2 separate regions of the Homo sapiens genome follow, and region 1 is linked to region 2. Evidence: promoter capture Hi-C in human tissues and cell types (Jung and others, 2019). All regions are on one chromosome and are shown on one strand. The core of a region is centred on a gene start or on the middle of the fragment in contact, and the rest is flanking DNA. Distances in the headings are between cores, read along the strand shown. Region 1 overlaps LINC01122 (long intergenic non-protein coding RNA 1122). Region 2 holds the start of FANCL (FA complementation group L).

Region 1 (5,250 bases), core at 2,293-4,792, 320 kb before region 2:
AACAAAGATAGTGCTTGCTTCTGGTTACAGCCCACACAAAATAAACTTACTTTTAAAAAGAAATCTTGGCATATGGTAACAAAACCTATATAATTCTCTTGATCTTTAATCTCTATGCCAATGTCTGTTTTACAGATTATGGCCTCAGCCCCTGACAAATCTGCTTAGTGAATTTTTGGCTGACAAATCTGGCAACACAAACGCTGTCTGAAATACATTCAAAAGGCTAAACATTTTCATAATAGCTACTTTACATAGCCTAGTAGGTTTCCCTTTAGGACACTAATTAGTTTTTTTTTAAAGTGACAGTGTTAATTTTTATGATTACACACAGAACTGAGATTTTTATTTAATACACTAGGCCTTTTTTTAATGCTTTTCAAGGGGATCAACCACTTTGCCAACAGACGGGTGTTACAGCAGGGGTGATTATAGTAATTTTTCATGTAATTGGGAGTCACCATTTGGTTGCTATCTTTCACATGCTTGTTGACTCATCATATAATCCTTTATAATGGGGGTTTGTTTTATGTCACAGGAACGTGCCAAGCAGCCGGGAAATAACAAACAGAGGAACCCCCCAGCTGGTGGGGACCACAAGGGTTTTTAACATCTGCCCGGTTCTTTAGACTGCACAAAATTTTTATTTAATAGCAGTGACCAAACACTGAGAGAAGGGTTTTGGAGGATTTGGGAAGAATCTGTGTTTTCTCTCAAGAGAAGATGTCTTTTAAAAACAGACTCTATTACATACTGCAGAGAGCACAGTTTTTAAAAGATAAGAAGGTGTAAGCAGTCATTAGAAATATCAGAGTCCCTTTGCCCCTTCCCCTACAGTCAAGAATTTAAGCCAAAAACAAATGCAGCATGTTGTCCCACGGGTTCACTTATCACAATTTCACTTTTCATCTTATCTTTTGAATCCCATCAGTTAGCATAGTGCTTTAATGGAACAAATATATGACCAGAGGTTGCATGCCAATATTAGATGCTGCACAGAGGTCAAAGCTGGAAATTGAGACTCCTCAGTTCTTAGCCCAGCTCTATCATCTTGGGAGAGTCCTGTGAACATAATTAGGGCTCAAATTCCCTTCACATTAAAAGCAAAGAGGAACACTACTATGATTCCTGAGTTTCCCTAAGAAAAAAGTAAAAATAAATAACAGAGTAAGTCTGAAAATATTTCTTGAGTTAAAACACTAAATACTAGGCCTTACAGTTTGACTTGAGATGATAGTTTCTATTAACACTTTGCCATCTGTGAACCAGTAAGGTTGGCAAAGCCATCTATAATGTACATTCTATCTGACGGAGTGCATATTTCCTTTGGAATTTTCCAAGAGTATTGGAACAAAGTTGCTCATTTTTATGAAAAGTATCTGATGAAAGTCTTGTTATTTGTTTATAACAGGTTCAAAGGAATGACTTATTTCAACTTATTAGGAATTGCTTTTTATTCCATTTAAGACCATGACCACTGACAGCCACGCTGTCTAAAGACAACAGCTGAAGTTAGATCAACTGGATCCAACTCTAGAATATTGACTTGATGAAGAACTTAAATTTGCTTTTTAATTTAATTATCTAAATACTATTTCATAATGGAAGCACAACATTAAATATGTCAGATTTTACTTAGTTCCTAAGATCTGAGATAAAGGTAGTTTGCCTAAATAACCATGTGATACAAACTAGCCATAATATGAATTAACCCTAAGTTATCTTCAACAAATCCTATACAGTTATATGTTATATTTTTAAATAAGTAAACATAAGATACAGTTATAAATAAAACATAAGATACAGTTATAAATAAAAGCCTAAAACACAAACCATTTATTTAACCAAGTTTAACTCTTATGACACCAAAGTGAACGCAAAATGAAATTATCCTATTATACAAATGAGTATGTGTCATGTATTTTCAGACTGCTGCTTAACCATAATTATTTCCAGCATTTAATTTCATATACTCACTGCTTTCAAAGGCCATTGGTAGTATAGATTTCTGATAGAAGCTAGCCAAATAGCAGACCATCAAAGAAGATAGTTGGTAAAATTGAAATCTATGTTTATCTAATAATTCCTTAAGAAACTAAAAATAAAGGCAGAAGCCACGAAACAATTTCCTTTATAGTAATTAAAACTGTAAATAAACAGATAACTTTATACTCTGTAGGAACCCCTAAACATTGAGGACACTTTGAGTATTCATTTCTGTCCAGTGCTATAGGAATAAATAAGTAAATTATCCATGTATACATAAAGCTTTCAGAAGCAGTATTAGAAGTTCATTTTATGAATTACAATCAACTTTTAATTTATACCACAGGGAAAAATATCCTTTTGTTAAGTTCAGTTTTACTATTTAGATTGGGAGGACATTGCAGTGATAGTGACTTTTATCCCACTCCTAATGTTCATGACTACAGAATCTACAACATACCAAATTATAAAACCAGCTTAGAGATGACATGCCATTCCTTTCCCCAACAGAGGAAAATATTTTCTCAATGGAATCATATTTAGAAATATAAATATAAATATGCAACATTCTCTTTTCTTTCACAGCTTTACCTTGTTGGGTACGCACAATTTCCTTCTGATGAACTACTTGTATCCAGCCAAATGACAATGATCAAATTATAGAGCAAAAAAATTATGTACTCTTTGTCACATTTCTTTATTACAGAGCTAACAACTTATTTAATTCCATTAATGAATGTGGTTCAGTAATAGTTTATCATTTTCCTCTTTATTTTTTAAAACTGAGAAAAAGAGGGAGGTTCACAGAGACAACAGTGTATTAGGATTGATGTATTCTCCAGTTTTCCTCTTGAGTTTAAAATCATAAACTACTCACTACTGTGAATTCTTAGGAGCAGCCTGTCAGATCCATTGTGATAATTAATATAATGGCATACTGTACATGCCACTGGTGTTAAGGCTGTTATCTTAGTGACTGTTGTAGTTTCTGACAATGCTATTTATAACATTACTATGTTGATAATGATACTAACAAACAATGTTAAACACAAACAACACAAAGTACTTTGCACTATACATACTGCAATAAAGTGAATTTCCTGGCCAGAAGTTGATAATCTAAATTGTGAATGACACCCACAGTACTTGTCTTCAGAGTATCTAAATATTGGATATAAGTGAGGCTTTGCCAAACAAGTACTGGGAAATCAGTTTTATGTAATAGCTCTTCAGATACAAATTGGAAGCTGGAGGATTTTATGAAGATTCAAAAAAGAGAAATCTTTGTTGAGATGAGACTAGTGTGAGCTGAGAAGTTAGTGAAAAGCAAAGCAAAGATTTAGACTGTTAGAATATCAAAAAAGTATATATTTTAGCAGTAACAAAGTAATAACTGAAAAGGAACTTTATTTCCCTAAACTTAGTTTCTGAGTACAAATGCAATATATTTAATTTTAGTAAGTAGACAATACAGAATACTATAAAGAAGAAAATAAAAAAGCATATGTAACACTATCAATGGGTAGATAATTTAAATTTTCAGTTATCTATTTTGTAATAGAGAAGAATCCCAATTAGATAAACACTTTAAGTACTTTTCAAACATTGCATCACAACCCATTGATGGAAGGTACATCAGTTTGGGGGTTTATGATCAGCATCCTTTATTACAATACAGTGGGAGATTGTATAGTATGATGGAAGTTTTTCATAAAACTTTTATTCATATTCGCAGGTTTACGGTCATTATGTAAAACATAATTCTAAGTGTGGGTTGCAGACAAGACACTGAAATTAACTGCTAAAAGACTTCGATTTTCATGACTTTAGTTGATTTATTTGAAAAGGAGAAAGGTGCCAGGCATGGTGGCTCAGACCTGTAATTCCAGCACTTTGGAAGGCCAAGATGAGAGGATGGCATGAACCCAGGAGTTCAAGGCCAGCCTCAGCAACATAGCAAGATGCCATCTCCACAAAAATTTAAAATATTAGCTAGGCATGGTGGCATATGCCTGTACTCCCAGCTACTTGGAAGGCTGAGGTGGGTGGATCACTTGCAGCCAGGAGGTTGAGGCAGCAGTGAGCCATGATCACAACACCGCACTCCAGCTTGGGTGACAAAGCGAGACTGTCTCAAAAATAAATAAATAAGTAAAAAAAGGAAGGAATTTCTATAGCATTCTAATAATGAGACATCTTTTGTAATAAACTTAATCTTGATAAGAAACATCTTTAAGCCAGGCATGGTGACTCAAGCCTGTAATCCCAGCACTTTGTGAGGCTGAGGTAGGCAGATCACCTGAGGTCAAGAGTTCAAGACCAGCCTGGCCAACATGGTGAAAACCTGTCTCTACTAAAAATACAAAAAATTAGCTGGGCATGGTGGCTGGCACCTGTAACCCCAGCTACTTGGGAGGCTGAGGCAGAAGAATCGCTTGAAAGCGGGAGGGGGAGTTTGCAGTGAGTCAAGATCGCGCCACTGCACTCCAGCCTGGGCAACAACAGCAAAACTCCGTCTCAAAAAAAAAAAAAAAAAAGAAATATTTTTAAAATACTGTTTTATTGTGAAACTGGTGAAGATATTAATTGCCTTTCCTTGGTTGCATTCATATATGCTGGATGTCACTGTCATTGAGCTGTTATTTACCTTAGGAGCTCACAAACTAAATATTAATCAAATAACCACACAAATATTTGTAAAGTTTCAGCTGTGATAAATTCCATGGTACTCAGAGGGCCCCAAAAGATAGTATAATCTAATTTAACATAAAAGAGAGTTCAGGGAAGACTGCCCTAGAAAAATAAGATCACTGCATTTTGAAGGATGAGTATGAAGTGAAAAGGAGAGAAGAAAACATTCCAGACAGAGAGGATAGCATATTCAAATGTCTGATCACCACAGGGGTCTCAAGGTGTACAAGGCCAAATGATATTCTACTTCAGATAGTGACCTGCTCTCAAGGAGATTATTACAGATCCTCAGTGACCAGTGGGGAGAGACACTGTCTTTCCTCGATGACAACAAAAAAGGAGCCCAACTCCTTACAAAAGCTTCTCTGCTTGAAATATAAACATGGTGGGTGTTTTAGTTTGTTTTTTATTGCTATCATAGAATACCACAGGCTGGGTAAATTATTTTTAAAAACGGAAATTTATTTATCACTGTTCTGGAGGCTGGTAAGTCCGAGATCAAGGTACTGGGTGTTCACATGAAGAAGAGCAAAAGAGAGTGAACCCACTCCCTCAAACCCTTTTCATAGTAGA
Region 2 (5,814 bases), core at 465-2,964:
TTAATTACCGAGTTGCAAAATAAAGCAGGTGTTATGTCCTGCCCCTGCAGAGATCCTCAAACCTTAGCATGCATCAGAATCACCTGGAGAGCTTGTTAAAACGCAGACTGCTGAGCCCTATTGCCAGTGTTTGGGATTCCCGAGGTTTGAAATAGGGGCCTGTAGGGAATGAGAAACATCTTTCTTTCCTGTTGCTAGATTCCTGTTTGAGTCCCTTATAAGAAAAGACAGATTAATAAGAGAAAAGCGTGCAAATTTATTTAAGTTTTATGTGGCATGGGAGCCTTCAGAGATGAAGCCCAAAGAAACAGGAAAACCTGTGCATTTTTAGAAGGAACAGTGGACAGTTGTGGGGAAGTACGGTTGGACAAAGCATGGTCTAATGGTAATAAACTGGGGTAAGTTGTCAAAGGTCTTTTTGTTCAGATTCTTTTCTATGTCTCCGTTTCTTTAGAGATAAGGATATTTCTTTCCTGTGGGTATAGGAAGAGCACCTCTGGATTGAGGATCCAATGACCCGCCTCAGGGAAGAAGGATGGGAGAAGGTCAGAGAGTGATCTTAGGTTTTGTTGTTTTCTCAAATGTCAAGGGGCCATATTTTGGGGTAGCATATCCTGAACCCCATCAGCGGTGAAAACTTGTATTTCTACATAGTTCCCAGGTGATGCTGTTGCTAGGTTCTAGGATCACGTTTTGAGAACCACTGCTTTAATGTAATTTATATCTAACCACTGCTCCAGCATTCTTTTCTGTAAGCATCCAGAATGCTGTGACAAATTCTTGTCAAACTTTAAGAATCTTCAGGATGTCAAATTCTGTCTTGAGGTCAATAAAGATGGGTAGGGGACGAAATAATCTTTGCTCAACCTTTGGCACATTACAATGATGTTTTTCAAATAGTAGGGCTCAAACGTGATGCATTGGAAAATTGGAAAATTGGAAAATCAAATAATCATATGGTAAATATTTTAGTAGGTTTCTTATTTAATCAACTCTTAATAAGATGGGATGGATAACATTCCTGAGTTAGAAAAACATATTGCAAGCGCTGTCAGAGGAAAATTAAGTTCAAGTCCATCAGCAATCTTTACTCATGTTTTGCTTTATATATTTGTGAGTGCCGTACACAGAACTGAGTCCAGTGTTGACTTGAGTCTAATCAATACACATATACGTATACATGTGTGTGCCTCAAATATATCTGATTGAACTTAGTAAGCCACAGAACTGTAATATATATGATATAATCAATGTGTTATACATTATATTACAATAATTATACACAAAATAATACATTATTCTGTATGTTAAGGGAGAGAGGACAACAGCAAAGAAGACAGAGTGCTACAACGTCCAGGCTGTAAAAGTCATTTTATTCTGGAGGAAATGCAACACCAAAGTTGTAACAGTCTTTCAATAAAGTAAAACAGAATCATCGAAAGGGCTCCTGGGACAATTGAGGCTAGAATGATCTTGGTCAGTCAGTCCTGTGGACTTGAGGGCAATCTTCCCTCCCACTACCGGTTGGGGAGCCCTGATGTCGCCTCCCGCAGAGCGCCACTTGGCCTGGCCTGCGCTTCACCTTCATTTCCGCCCGCGGAATCCTCCAGGATCTTCCCGCCAAGGCTGGGGTTTCCGCTCCGCGGCGTCCGAGCGCCAGCGGACTGCGCATGTGCAGGACCCAGCAGGTCTAGAGCTTTTCTGTGTTTCTCCGGACTTCGAGCCATGGCGGTGACGGAAGCGAGCCTGTTGCGCCAGTGCCCCCTGCTTCTGCCCCAGAACCGGTCGAAAACCGTGTATGAGGGATTCATCTCGGCTCAGGTACCCGCCCAGTGGTTGCTTTCTAGCTAAGAGAGCCTCTTGCAGCGTAGCTGCGCGGAGAAGTCTGTGACGGGCTAGGAGGTTAGGGGCCCAGACTTGTGGGGATTGAGAGGGGCGGCGCGTAACGGCTCTTGGGAGACTAAAGGTTTGAGAAGCGCCGCTGTCGCCGCCACCCCGGTGGTCGCCGCGCTGGATGGGGAGCGAGGAGGCGCGCGGCGTGGAGCGGGGCTGGGGCCACGCCTCCTCTCTCCCTAGCCCTTCCCCGAGTTTGGCTTCCTTCTTCGTTCAGTGTCCCGCAATTGACTGTTTTTTAATTTTTTTTTTGTAAATTTTGCCTTAACTCGATTTTAACACCCTCCACCTCCACGGATGTTGATGAGTTCACTCGGGAATCTGGGCTAATTATTTTCGTGTTTCCTGTAGAAAGAACATTTGGGAAGAAAACCTTATTTTGGCCCTTTGCCAAGTCGTATGTACCTGTACACCCACAGTTACAATATCTTCTAGGAGAAGCATGACAGCAATGGAATTAATTAACTTTGCTGATTCCAGTGGCCTCTCATATGGAGTTTATTACACATACTAACACATGTGTAGGGTTTTGAAGTTTACAAAGCGCTTTCCAGGTAAATAGTTCACTTAATCCTCAGCCCTTTGAGGCAGAAATTTTTAAAAGAATCATCATTCCCATTTTCTAGTTGAAGAAATCAAGGTATGGGAAACCGGAGACGTTATTTGCTGATGATCACATCAGAATCCCTTAAACGCAGGCTGTGTGATTTCAGTCCTGGATTTTTTTCTCTTTACATTGCACCAGGATACCTTAGGTTAGGAGTGTAGACTTTTCCTTTCTGACCATTACACTCAACCTTGTGCCCACTTCCCCACCATCACGCATAGTCTTTGAGTATATGTGGAATTACCATATGACCATCACAGAAAGTAGAGGTTAAAAATTCATTATTCCATATGGAAAAAAGTTAATCCACCTTTCCCTCTCCAATTAGAAGTATTCTTCTTGAATTACCTAGCTGAAAATATGATTCTCTTGTAGACAACATTTAGAAAAGTTGAAAAATTTTAAGTTACTTTTTTTTTTTTTTTTTTACAGGAAGCATGTTATACCTAATTTTAGGCAAAATACTGTTATGTATGTCTATATCTGCTAAGGCCTTTTAGGAAACAAGTACACCCATTAGAATTGAGATTAGATGAAAGTTTCTTTTATGACCATTGCTATAGCTAGAATTCCAATTTGTACCTGCCTTAGCAGTTTATTTAAATCTTAAACATTTTACGTGTCTAAAAATATTTTGTATATATTTTAAATTTACAGAAAAGTAGCAAGGATATACAGTACAAGTAATTCCAGTATACCCTTTACCTAGATTCACCAGTTTACATTTTCTCCATTTTACTGATCATTGTTAAGTATATGTATGTGGGTGGGTGTGTATACACATTATTTTCCTGAACCATTTGAGGTCAAATCAGGCGTAGTTCCCCTTTATCCCTAAATACTTGAGCATACATTTCATAAGAACGAGGACACACTCATACATAACCACAGTACAGTGATTAAAATCAGGATATTTAATGATATACTATTATCTAAGATAGAGTCCATATTTCAAATTTTGTTTATGATACAGTTGTATGTTTTATACCCCCATCCCCTACCATCTGTTGTTAAGATCCCACATTACATTTAGTTGTCATGTCTAACCTGGAACAATTCTCAGTCTGTTTGTGTTTTTTATAAGCTAGACATTTTTAAAGAGTACAGATTGGCTGTTAGGTAGAATGTATCTCAATTTGGGTTTGGATGATATTTCCTCACTATTAAATTCAGCTAATGCATTTTTGGCAGGGATACTACAGAAAGATTGTTTTGTCCTTCTCAAGGCTTGTGAGGTTACCTGGTTGGTTCCATTATTAATGATGTTAACTTTGATCACCTGGTTAAGGTATCATCTGTCAGAGTCTCCTTTTGTAATTAATAAGTACTTTTGGGGAGGTACTCTGAGGCATCAAACTTTCACACACATTCTCTGGTTTTAGCGTCCATTGACTTTTGCTTGAGTCGACTATTACTATCACGGTTGCCAAATGATGATTTTCTAACTCTTGTCATTTCTATATTTATGAAGTGGCAATTCATTATAAGGAGTAGCATTGCCTGCTTTCTCATTTATTTAATTATATTAGAATGGATGCATGGACTTTTAAAAAAATTACTTGATTATAATCATTATTTATTTTGATCCTCGAATTGTCCCAGATTTGGCCAGTGAGCAGGTTTTATGTATGTAAGTTTTTAAGGCTTTGCATTTCCTCTCATCAGTGTTTTAAAAGTATCCTATAGATGCTGACATGTAGCCTTATAACCACCATTTTTAGAAGCTATATGATGTCAATTTACTATGCACCTTAATAGGTTGTAAAAATTTTCTCGTGGAAGGTCCTTTTTGGTTTTTAATTTTGTTGCTGATTTCTAATTTTTCTTGTATTGTAATTAGACAGTATTGTTTATAAAAAAGTCTCCATGGAACTTACTGGTACTTTTTCCTGTGACCTAATATGTAATCAGTTTTAGGTGTTGTCTCTATTATCAGATTTTCTCTTTCCTTTTGAGTGAGCTTTGGTAGTTTGTGTCTTTCAAGGAATTTGTTAGTTTCATCTAGGTTTCTGATTTTATTGGCTTAAAGTTATTTACAATAATCCCTTATTATCCTTTTAATGTCTTTAGGATCTGTAATGATGCTCTCTATGTTGGTTATCTTTTGCTGCTATTTACTTCAAACCTTAGTGGCTTAAAACAAAAACAATTATTGTCTCACTGTTTCTGTGGATTTGAAATTTGCGAACAACTTGGATGGTAGTTCTTGATCAAAATCTCTCATGATCTTGCAATCAAGATATTTGCCAAGACTTTGATGGTCTAAAACAGGGTGTCCAATCTTTTGGCTTCCCTGGGTCACATTGGAAGAAGAAGAATTGTCTTGGGCACACATAAAATACACTAATGATAGCTGATAAGCTAAAAAAAAATCACAAAAAATCCCATAATGTTTTAAGAAAGTTTATTAATTTGTGTTGGGCTGCATTCAGAGCTGTCCTGGGCTGCCAGTTGGTCAAGCTAGAGGTGGAGGATTTGCTTCCAAGATTGCTCATTCACATAGCTATTGGCCATGAGGCCTCAGTTTGTTACTGCTCTTAACAGGAGGCCTTAGTTCCTCACCACATGGATCTTTATAGTGTTGCTTGACTGTTATCACACATGGCAGCTAGCTTCTCCTGAGTGTATGATACAACAGAGAGATCAATAAAGATGCACATTCTCTTTAATCTCTTAGTCTCTGAAGTCACACACATTTACTTCTGCTTTATTGTGTTAGATGCAAGTTTCTTAGTCTATATTCAAAAGGAGGGAAATTAGGCACCAACTCCTAGAGGTAGGAGTGTCAAATAATTTATGGATATACGTTAAAAATAGCTTTCATCCTCATATCTGATGTAGGTAATTTATGTCTCATTTTTTCCCCCGATACATCTAGATAGAGGTTTATAAATTTTACTGATTTCTTCAAAGAACCTGTCTTTAATTTCTTCAATTTTTTTCTATTATTTTTATGTTTCTATATGATAGTTTTCTGATCTTAAGTTTCCTGATTTCTTTAGATGGAAGATTATTGATATGAGATCTTTCTTCTATTCTAGTACAGATATTTAGTGCTTTAAATTTTCTTTTGAATACTGGTTTAGCTATATCACACACATTTTGGTGTGCTGTAGTTTTGTTTTTATTCAGTTCCAAATGCCTTTTAATTTCTTCTTTGATCTATGGCTCACTTAGAATTATGATTATCTTTCTCAATATTAAGGATTTTCTAGATATCTTTTTGTTATTGATTTATAATTTAGTTTCATTTTGGTCACAGAATATAACTTGTATGATTTAAATTTTTAAAATATTTATTGAGCCTTAATTTT

The links. Contacts are between HindIII fragments. The study calls those that stand out against the background at their distance.
Region 1: a contact is called between a fragment that was not itself captured here and the fragment with the promoter of FANCL in region 2, in 1 of the 25 tissues and cell types used here (mesendoderm cells).

Annotation. Positions count from the first base shown.
Region 1 is chr2:58,564,610-58,569,859 of GRCh38, reverse strand. The region is part of intron 1 of LINC01122 (long intergenic non-protein coding RNA 1122); the gene reads right to left. Among named protein-coding and RNA genes, the nearest start is that of LINC01122, 46 kb to the right of the region's middle. The HindIII fragment of the contact is 5,805 bases long and covers 640-5,250 here.
Region 2 is chr2:58,237,225-58,243,038 of GRCh38, reverse strand. It overlaps FANCL (FA complementation group L), which reads left to right and starts at 1,714. Exons shown (of 14, transcript NM_018062.4): 1 at 1,714-1,821. The coding sequence starts at 1,726. RefSeq lists an enhancer at 1,367-1,526 and a silencer at 2,067-2,116. The HindIII fragment of the contact is 14,155 bases long and covers 1-5,814 here.